Regions from separate parts of the Homo sapiens genome. Here region 2 is linked to region 1. The links are contacts of gene promoters, found by promoter capture Hi-C in blood cells and fetal thymus (Javierre and others, 2016). All regions are on one chromosome and are shown on one strand. Each heading gives the region's core, a stretch centred on a gene start or on the middle of the fragment in contact. The rest is flanking DNA. Distances are from core to core; before and after follow the strand shown. Region 1 holds the start of PLIN1 (perilipin 1). Region 2 overlaps ARPIN-AP3S2 (ARPIN-AP3S2 readthrough).

Evidence for each region. The method cuts DNA at HindIII sites, captures the fragments that hold promoters and counts their contacts. A CHiCAGO score of 5 or more calls a contact.
Region 2: a contact is called between a fragment that was not itself captured here and the fragment with the promoter of PLIN1 in region 1, in 1 of 17 cell types (megakaryocytes). The highest score is 5.9, in megakaryocytes.

The regions. Positions count from the first base shown.
Region 1 is chr15:89,677,982-89,683,306 of GRCh38, forward strand. It overlaps PLIN1 (perilipin 1), which reads right to left and starts at 1,386. Exons shown (of 9, transcript NM_002666.5): 1 at 1,270-1,386. PEX11A (peroxisomal biogenesis factor 11 alpha) reads right to left here. Exons shown (of 3, transcript NM_003847.3): 3 at 3,554-5,325. The HindIII fragment of the contact is 7,659 bases long and covers 1-3,626 here.
Region 2 is chr15:89,873,101-89,878,368 of GRCh38, forward strand. All of the region lies in intron 7 of ARPIN-AP3S2 (ARPIN-AP3S2 readthrough), which reads right to left. All of the region lies in intron 3 of AP3S2 (adaptor related protein complex 3 subunit sigma 2), which reads right to left. It also overlaps the pseudogene LOC100631255. Among named protein-coding and RNA genes, the nearest start is that of MIR5009, 8.3 kb to the right of the region's middle. The HindIII fragment of the contact is 653 bases long and covers 1,362-2,014 here.

The DNA.
Region 1 (5,325 bases), core at 136-2,635:
CTCCTGACCTCAAGTGATCCACCTGCCTAGACCTCCCAAAGTGCTGGGATTACAGGCATGAACCACCACACTGGCTAATTTTTGTATTTTTAGTAGAGATGGGGTTTCATCATGTTGGCCAGGCTGGTCTCGAACTCCTGGCCTCAAGTGATCTGCCCACCTTGGCCTCCCAAAGTGCTGTGATTACAGGCAAGAGCCACCATGCCCGGCCAAGAATAATGTTTCCTATAAGAGTTCAGGTTAAGAGGCCAGGCGCGGTGGCTCAGGCCTGTAATCCCGGCACTTTGGGAGTCCAAGGCAGGCAGATCACCTGAGTTCAGGAGTTCAAGACCAGCCTGGGCAACATGGTGAAACTCCGTCTCTGCTAAAAATACAAAAATTAGCCAGACGTGGTGGTGGGCAGCTGTAATCCCAGCTACTTGGGAGGCTGAGGCAGGAGGATCGCTTGAGCCTGAGAGGTGGAGGTTGCAGTGAGCTGAGATCCTGCCACTGCACTCCAGCCTGGGTGACAGAGGGAGACTCTGTCTCAAAAAAAAAAAGGAGTTCAGGTTAGGAAATAAAAAATGCAGGTAGCCATAAGAGATAAAAAGTTTTAGATAAAATCTTAAGGCTCTTAAATGAGGGTCCAAAAGAGACTAAAACAAGAAGTTTCAAGCTGGGTGCACTGGCAAGCACCTGTAATCCCAGCTACTGAGGCTGACATGGGAGAATTGCTTGAGCCCAGGAGTTTGAGATCAGCCTCGGCAATACAGTGAGATGCCCATCTCTAAAAAAATAAATAAACAAGTTAAAGGTTTCATCTTTGAAAAGGCTCTGGGTTAATTCCTCTATTTCTCTCTTTCTCTCTGTCTGTCCCTCTCCCCCTCTCCCTATCTGTTTTTTGAGACAGGGTCTCAATCTGTTGCCCAGGATGGAATGTGGTGGCACGATCATGGCTCAATGCAGCCTTGACCTCCTGGGATCAAGGTACCCTCCCACCTCAGCCTCTCATGTAGCTGGGACTACAGGCATGCACCACAATGCAGGGCTAATTTTTTCTCTTTTTTTATAGAGACAGGATCCCACTGTGTTGCCCAGGTTGTTCTTGAACTCCTGGGCTCAAGTGATCCACCTGCCTTGGCCACCTGCAGTGCTGGGATTAAAGGCATGATCCACTGTGCCTATCCAATTCCTCTATTTCTAGATTCTGGTATCTATACCAGAATCTCTCCCTCAGTAGTTTCCCTGCAGAGTTTTTCATCCCCAGCAAAATCCCCAAGAGGCCCTTACCTTCAACTTCTTCCCTTTAATGTTCATAAACAAGCCATGTAAGGCAGGTGCCCCAGGACCCCAACACTCACTCCGGCTGACCGCCACCTCAGTCTCACAGAGCCCAGGCTGCAGAGTGTCTCCTCAGGCAGAAACAATTCCTGTCACTCCTGGGAGGCTTGGGCAATGCTGCTTCCACCTCCCAGCTAGAGGAGGGCAGAGAGGGAGAGACAACAGGGTCAGCCAGTTGTCATGGTTATATGACCCAGGGTTCCCCAGGCATATCCTAACTTCTCTAAGGACATTTAGCAAACAAGGAGGTAGGTGGCAGAGCTGAAGGAGATCCAGGCTCAGAGGACTTAGTATTCCAGAGCCATGAAGCATCAGTTCTGTAATGTTCCTGCCCTCAATTCACAAAAATCTGCTTTCCAGAAAGAAGGTATAGGGATAGACATCATTAAACTCAAAAGCTCTAAAGTTCTATATACCTCTGCAATCTTTTGGCTCCTTTTCCATAGAGGGTCTTGTGGGAGTTTTCAATCCATTTCTCTCATCTTTTCTTATTTACTAGCAAGACTGAATGCTGAACAGTAAAATTTAAACCCACACAGAAGAGTTCATCTGAATGTATTCATCTTTGATTATGGAGATAAATTGCCCTCAGTGAAGAAGCGACAGAGCCGGGAGTTGAGTTTTTGACAATATAGCCTTTGAGTTGAGGGAGGAATTCCCACTTCTTAGAATTCAAAAAAATTTATTGAACTTTACCTGGCCTAAGATGCTACCAGAATGAAGAGTAGGAGAGCCAAGTAGATTTTTATTCTCCTGGGTCTGGATAAGCGACAGTGTTGACTAGGATTCTATCACTAATCAAGAGCACCCAGACAGCCAAGAATTAGCACCACTCAACCCTTCTTTACCCAGGACTCAAGCACAAGCCCAAGTTCTAGTTCCTGGCTTTAGATATGATGGAGGACTATGGTATAAGCCATAGCTTTCAGATTAACTAAGAAGGGCCTCTTCATGAAAACAGACAATAGGAAAACAAAACTTATTTTCTTTGTTGCTGGTGGAATTATATGTATTGTTGACTCTGTTAAGTCACACAGTGTGGGCAAGAGAAGAAAGAGGCAGGGGTGGGGAATTATGAAAGATCCTTGGTAATAAATTACGTATCTGTGATGCAATAAAGTAGGGAATGAGAAGGCAGGAAAGGGAGGAGTCAAGCAGGGAGGCTTCAAAGGAGTAATACGCTATACGTTTAATACTTATTGATCCAACCTGTGCTTTTCAAATGTAAGGCAGTAGAGAAGACAAAGTATTTAAAGAAGTGGCCTCTGCCCTCACCTCAAGGTTCAGCACAAATTATCTGTGAGGCTGTGACTGGACAGCAACCTGAGCCAAAGGGCAGTTTTCAGCCTTCAGAGTAGTGGCTTTGGGCCAGAGGGAACATAGGGCTTTGTGCCTGAAAGCTCTGCCAAATCAAATAGTCCTTTGGCTGCTTTAGCTGGGAGTGCAGAATGTGGGTGAGAGGTGAGAAGTGGTGAAAGGGCCTAGGAGAGTCCCGAGGGAAGACAGAAGTGTTAGTTTTCTAGCAGTAGCTTGCAGGGCATAGAGTTCTATCTTCTTTCCTTCTCCGTACCTACCTGCTTTCCCTACCCCTCCACCAAGTGAGAGCAGGGACCTAGGTCATCTTGCTCACAAGTGGATACCCAAAACCATGCATGGCACTCAAACATTCATTGTTGAATAAATGAATTGTCAGGCAACAATGCTCAGTTGTGAATGTGCTGGGCTGTACATCTACGAAGAACTTCTTCGATTTTTGGCATCCCTCATGAATGTGGAGGCTCTGGGGTGGAAAACATTAGTTACAAAGAAGGATTCACAGGGTGGTACCAGGACACCATTAAGGTTTACACAAACCTCTTAGAAGAGGTAGTATTTCCCAAACTCCCCACCACTCACCATTGCAGAGGACAAAAGTACCAAGATGGATACCACTGTAACATAACATACCACCATGAATTCAAGGCAGACTTACCTAGGCAGAAGCCAGCCAGCGATTGACAGGGCTACTGTAGAGCACCATCTCCATGGCAGCAGTCTAGATGAGTTCATTTCAGAGGTCCCTCTCAACCCAGAGGCTCTACATCTCAATCTTTCTCCATCCTCCTCCTCAGCCTGGATCTTCTAGCCCAGAGCTCGCTGTACCAACTGTGTAGGCTGATTGAGGATTATCTGATGGATTGCCTTATGTTTAACTCTTCTCTCTTCCCAGAACACACTCACAGACACAAGTCAATTTTGTCTAGAAATTTATTGAACATAGTTAATCTATTACAGTAGAGGATCTGGACAATAAAAATAGTTATTTAAGCTTTTTATTTTCCCTGACCTAGTAGCTTTCATGTCTCTTAAAATTCCCTAAATTTTATTTCTCAAATCCCATATCGTGATTGGTTAAACAGACAGCCAAGAATCTGAGTCTATTTTTTGAGAATCTCAATCACATTTCTGGGAAATGTGACTTATTGAGTACATATTTATTTTCTCATTTCCATTCAGATAAATGACACAGCTTTGCTGGGAGGACTGACATCGGCCTCCTACCTGCTGGCATCCTATTTCTCTACCTCACCTCCCTCAAACTAAAGGATCTGTAACCACATATAAAGACCCACACCCAAGATGGCAGATAGGAACACAAGTCAATGTCATTGACTCAGCATTCCATTGTCCTCTTCACTGGCTTCCTCCTGCGCTTTCCACCTCCCTCAATCACCCTAGAAATAAGATGTCTGATTTATCGTAGAAAATTGTGACTCTCTTACATCTGGAGTATTCATGAAATTTTTTTGACTGGATAAATTTTGATGAAAATTAATGTAGAATTGCCTAAATTGTTAGAAGGATTTAAATAAAACAATCTAACTGATAAGTCTAAATACTGTCTTAATTTTTTTTTAAGACACAGGGTCTTGCTCTATCACCCGGGCTGGAGTGCGGTGGAAGCTCACTGCAGCCTTGAACTCCTGGGCTCAAGTGATCCTCCTGCTTCAGCCTCCAGAGTATCTGGGACTACAGGCATACTCCACCATGCCTGGCTAATTTTTTAACACTTTGTTGTAGAGAAGGAGTCTCACTACATTGCCCAGGCTGGTCTTGAACTCCTGGCCTCAAGCAATCCTTCCGCTTCAGCCTCCCAAAGTGCTGGGATTATAGGTGTGAGCCACCACACTCCACCCAGTTTTAGTTTTTCTAGAAAAGAATATAAACCACTGGACAAGGAAATTTCCAAATTATGGGAGAGTAAGAGGCAAAAAACAGGATTCAGGAGGGGATCACATTTCTACTCAATTCTGAAGACAGTGGGAGAGCATGGAGAGAACACTGGATTAGGAGTCAGAGGAATGAGGCTCTAGCCTCAGTTTTTTGTTTGTCTCACTGTCAGCTTCTTATCTGTCACAGGCTACATATAGGCACCCATTGTGACCCTGTACCTATTTTTATAAGTCCCTCCGGTCTGCTTCTGATTTTTGCTTATTCACTGCACCCATAGACACAATTTATACCATGAAGGTGCCTGATGCTTTTCTGATTCTACTTCTGCACAGAGCAAGGACATGAGTGCAGTGATGGTATAAGGGCCAACAAGTTGAGAGGCTGTAAGCCCAGCTCTCCTCCATCCTGCTACTGACATCAGAGCCTCTACTAGATCTGAGAGTGCCATGCACCAGACCTACTGTAATCGTGAAACCAATGATCCATATGACCCTAAAGTTATTGTATACTGGTGTTCAATGATCAGTGCGATTGGGTCTTTTTAAATTTTTTCCTTTCAATTTTTATTCATTCAGCAAATACTAAGCTCCCACTATGCACATAAGAGATGTTCAATCAATGTTAGATGAAGGGAAAATATTCAGAAATTCACAAGTCACTCCAGCACTCCAAAAACATACAACTCTTCATGCTCCTCCCTTCTCCGTTCTTGGCCTCATCTCTGCCCACATCACAGGTTGTTAAATGCTCACATGAACAAGAACTTAAGCACAGTATGACATGGCCTGTGAC
Region 2 (5,268 bases), core at 438-2,937, 200 kb after region 1:
TTAAATGGGTCTATTTCTCAATCACTATGCTGGGTACTTGGTAAGCCCTTATAATCCTGCAGTTCAAGTCCTTCAGTTCTGGGAAATTTTATCGAATTATTTTGTTGAGAATTCCCTCCTTTCCACATTCCTAATCAATCTTTTTGGAGCTGCTTATATTCAAGTATTGGACCTCTGTCTGTCTTCTTTTTTTTTTTTTTTTGAGACAGACTCTCGCTCTGTTGTCCACGCTGAAGTGCAGTGCCACGATCTTGGCTCACTGCAGCCTCTGCCTCCTGGGTTCAAGCAATTCTCCTGCCTCAGCCTCCTGAGTAGCTGGGATTACAGGCATGCACCACCACGCCTGGCTAATTTTTGTATTTTTAGTAGAGACGAGGTTTCACCATGTTGGCCAGGCTGATATCCAATTCCTGACCTTAAGTGATCCCCCTGTCTTGGCCTACCAAAGTGCTGGGGTTACAGACGTGAGCCACTGTGCCCGGCCTCTGTCTTATTTTCTCATCTTTTCTCTCCCATTTTCCATCTCTGCCCATTCTGAGACAATTGATTAACTTGATTTTCTAATACTTCAGTTGAAGTGGGTTTTTGTTTGTTTCCATTTCCTCTCATTTTTTATTTCTAAGAGACCATTTTGTTCATTTTGTGTGAGCAACAAGGCTGTGAGTGTTTTTGTTTAGCACCCATTTAGCAATAAGACATAAATGGGTCTTATTTTATTTCTAATTAATAAATGGGTCTTATTATTATTTAAAATAAATGTCTTATTTCTCTGTGGCTTTTTTTTTTTTTTTTTTTTTTGAGACAAGGTCTCACTCTGTCACCCAGGCTGGAGTGCTGTGGTGTGATCTCAGAACACTGCAGCCTCAGCCTCCCGGGTGCAGGTGATTCTCCTGCCTCAGCCTCCTGAGCAGCTGGGACTACAGGTATGTGCCACCATGCCTGGCTAAAATACTTCGTATTTTTAGTAGAGATAGGGTTTCACCATGTTGGCCAGGCTTTCTCTGTAGCTTAAGAATAGGGTTTTGGGTTTTTTTTTTTTTTAAACTGTTTTCCTTTCTTTATATGGTGTCCATTTTTAAGTTGCTTTTTATTGTTTGTTCATTTTATCTCCTTCTTCTATGTTAGAGGTTTTCCGCAGATGTCTGATAATCCTTTGTTTTTCATTTGTTACAAGAATAAAAGGCTGATTGAAAGCTCTACAATCATGGATATTTCTTGCCCACCTCCATGGTTATTTGCTTCCCTAGCGAAATCTGTCTCACGTGTCCATGTGAAGAGACCACCAAACAGGCTTTGTGTGAGAAACAAGGCTGTTTATTTCACCTGGGTGCAGTCTTTCTAGGTATCAAAATTCATTGTAAAGCTTTGTTAACTAAAATAGTATAATACTAAGGCTGGGTGAGGTGGCTCATGCCTATAATCCCAACACTTTGGGCAGCCAAGACAGGAAGATCCCTCGAGCCCAGGAGTTTGAGACCAGCCTGGGCAACATAGCAAAACATCGTCTCCACAAAAAAATAAAAATAAAAAAATTAGCCAGGCATAGTGGCACACACCTGTAGTCCCAGCTACTTGGAAGGCTGAGGTGGGAGGATTGCTTGAGCCCAGGAATTCAAGGTTGCAGTGAATTATCATTGCACCACTGCATTCCAGCCTGAGTGACATACCAAGACCTTGTCTCTAAATAAATTTTAAAAATAAAATAAAAGTATAATTCTAAGATGGGAATATAGATCAGTGGGGCAGAATATAAATTACTGAAACATACATGTTTATAAAATGCAATTTTAAAAATAAGAGTCGTATTTTAAGTTGGTGGGGAAAAGACAAGCTAACTGATAATGTTGGAACAGTTATCCTTTGGGGGAAAAATAAAGTTACATATTTCAATGCAGACATAAAAATATCTAACAGATATTAATGAGCTAAATGTAAAAAAATAAATTAAAAAAGCAACGGCAGATCCCCTGGGTGCCATCCAGGCCCCCGGAAGGAGCTATTCAGTCTGTGGCAAAGCTTTGAGGTGGCTGGTACTGCTAAAAGCGGCACGTGGAGGTGCCCCCTAGCGGCCTGAGCTCTGTTCTGCGGCAGCCAGAGCACATGCGAGGAGAGCCAGACCACAGTTTGCAGCAGCACCATCCCAAAAGGCTGTTTTCATTAAAGATGTTTCATGAAACTAAGACTGGGTTCTCAAGATAGGGTAGTTATCCAGGACAAGATGGACTAGCCCCAGAAAAAGACATCCCCAGATAGTGGGTGGAAAAAGAACTGTCAGATGCATCTGTTTTTCTTACTCAAAATATTATTCAAGATCACAATCAAGGTCAAGAGAAAGAAAACAAGAAAGAAAACGAAGGACGAAAACACAAAGCGCATGCTGATGGGCAAAGAGGCTGAACTGAAGACATTGCAGACTCAGGTAGGAAAATAATAAGCCTATTTCATGATGAGGCAAGAAGACAGGAATCCTACAACAAATCCTCTAAGAAATACACTTCTGAGGAGCATAATGACAAAGAACATTATTCTGATAAAGGAAGAGAGGGACTAAATTCATCTGAAAATGGGCTGGGCGCAGTGACTCACGTCTGTAGTCTCAGTACTTCGGAAGGCCAAGGTGGGCAAATTGCTTGGGCTCACAAGTTTGAGACCAGCTTGAGCAACATGGCAAAGCCCTGTCTCTATAAAAAACACAAAAGTTAGCCAGGCGTGGTGGTGTGTGCCTGTGATTCCAGCTACTCGGGAGGCTGTGGTGAGAAGCTTGAGCCGGGGAGACAGAGGTTACAGTGAGCTGTGATTGTGCCACTGCACTCCAGCCTGGGCAACAGAGTGACATGCTGTCTCAATAAATAAATACATTCATCTGAAAATGATGAGGACAGACACAAACACAAAGAAAGCCATCAAGAAGCAGAAGTCACTCAAGATACAGGTCTCGTGAAAGGCATCATCGTAGTAGAGGGAAAAGAAGTAGTCTCAATCCAGAAGCAGAGAGAAGAACGATCATGATCTAGAAGCAGGAAAAGAAAACCATGGGCTGGACATGGTGCTTCACACCTGTAATCCCAGCACTTTGGGAGGCCAAGTCAGGCAGATCACCTGAGATTCAGGAGTTTGAGACCAACCTGGCCAACATGGCAAAACCCTGTCTCTACTAAAAATGCAAAAATTAGCCAGGCGTGGTGATGCATGTCTGAGGTCCCAGCTACTTGGGAGGCTGAGGCAGGAGAATCACTTGAACCCAGGAGGTGGAGGTTTCAGTGAGCTGAGGTCACACCACTGCACTCCAGCCTGGCCAACAGAGTGAGACGCCGTCTCCAAAAAGGAAAGAAAAAAAAAAGAAAGAAAGAAAACCATGGATCAGATCTTGCTCCTGTTCAAGATAAAAACTACATCTGTGTTGCGTGTGAAAAATAAGTAAATAAATAAATATGACATGCATAGGAAAGAAGCAGAAGTAGTACAGGAAGCAGAAGACAAGAGAGAAAGAAGAGCATTGAGAAACTAAGATTTAGCAGAAGTTTAAGCCAGATTTCCAGTTCATCTCTCTTCAGAGGCAGAGGCACAGCAAAGGATGCATAAGAAGCTTTAGCTGGGAGGATGGACTAGGCAAAGAAATTACAAGAACAGCAAGAAAAAGAAATAGTTGGGATGGGTGTTGGGAAAAAATTTTTTAAAAGAAAAAGAAATCATTGAAAAACAAAAACAAGAAATAGCTCCAGTTACTAGAGATTTTGTTCTCAATGTTGCTGCCCTGTTGGCATCAGGAATGCCAGTAACTCAGATAGCTATGGCAGCTCAAATGGGAGCCCTGCAAGCAACAGCTTTGGCAGAGACAGAACAGCTGTACCTAGGGATTATGACACAGCAGCTGGAAATCCAGTGAAATTTGCTGAACAAGAGGAAAAAAGTCAAGGCAAGAAAAACTGGGCAAACTCCCCGTCTGCTGAACTATGACTTTGGGAAACAAGGACCAAAATGTCATATATATGGAAATTAGTGGGTATTAAGAGTGAAGATGAAGCTAGATGTAGCTCACTTGATGAAGAAAGTTAGAAGACTTTGAAGCAATAGGAAGTACTGTATTTAGAAATTTAGATGCTCAGTATGAAAAGGCAAGATCACAGACCCACACATAAAGAGGAACGGGATTGGGTTTCACATCTTCAACGTGAGAAATGGATGCAGTTTGAAAAAGATCATACTTTTAAGGTTTGGGAACTTATAGCCTTCTTGTTCTGATGTCAGGTCCTTGTTCCCAAAGAGCTAGTGTTCCAGTTTGTAGGGTGTTGCACTGGCTTTTCTTCCTCTCTCTTTTTTTAAGCTGTGGTAAAATACACGTAACATAAAATTTACCATCATAGCCATTTTTTAAGTGTACAATTCAGTAGCATTCGATAACGTTCATAATGTGCAACCATCACCACCATCCATGTTCATATCTCTATTTTATAAACCTGAAACATGGCCGGGCGCGGTGGCTCATGCCTGTAATCCCAGCACTTTGGGAGGGCGAGGCAGGTGGATCACTTGAGGCCAGGAGTTTAAGACCAGCCTGAGCAACATGGTGAAAACCCCCAGCTACTCAGGTGGCTGAGGCACAAGAATTGCTTGAACCTGAGAGGTGGAGGTCACGGTGAACCAAGATCATGCCACTGTACTCCAGTCTGGGCAACAGAGTGAGACTCTGTCTCAAAATAAAAAAAATTAAAAAAAAGAAAAACACCAAAAAACTGAAATGCTATTCCCATTTGCATTGGCTTTAATTTATTGAAAAATAAGATTTTTTTCATAAATATCAGATCAGTGATATAGGTGTTGTAATCATGTTAGACTCGCTTTCACTAAACCTGACAGGACTATAGAAGGACAATATTTTTTGGTTCGTGAATTCTACTTTTTGAACATAAAGTGCTGTAGGTAGAATGAAATCTCATACATGCATTTTTTTGTGTCTGTTATCTTGTGTACTTTTGTACTTAACCTTGTACAGTTATTTTCATCTTTTAAAACATAAAATAAATGTTATGCAGATGTTCGTTAGAAGATCTTGCCACTGGTACATAATCCAGCACAAATAAGCTGGGTGGTGATGATAATAAAAATGGTTTTCTCCAAAGGAAAAAAAAAACAACAGCAAAACTGTAGGAGAATATTTTCATACCTTGGGAGCTATGAAGAAAACAACTTCCAGATGTACCTACATAAAGCAAAAAGACCAATGGAGTAGGAGAAAATATTTGCAATAAATATAACAAAAAAAGAATA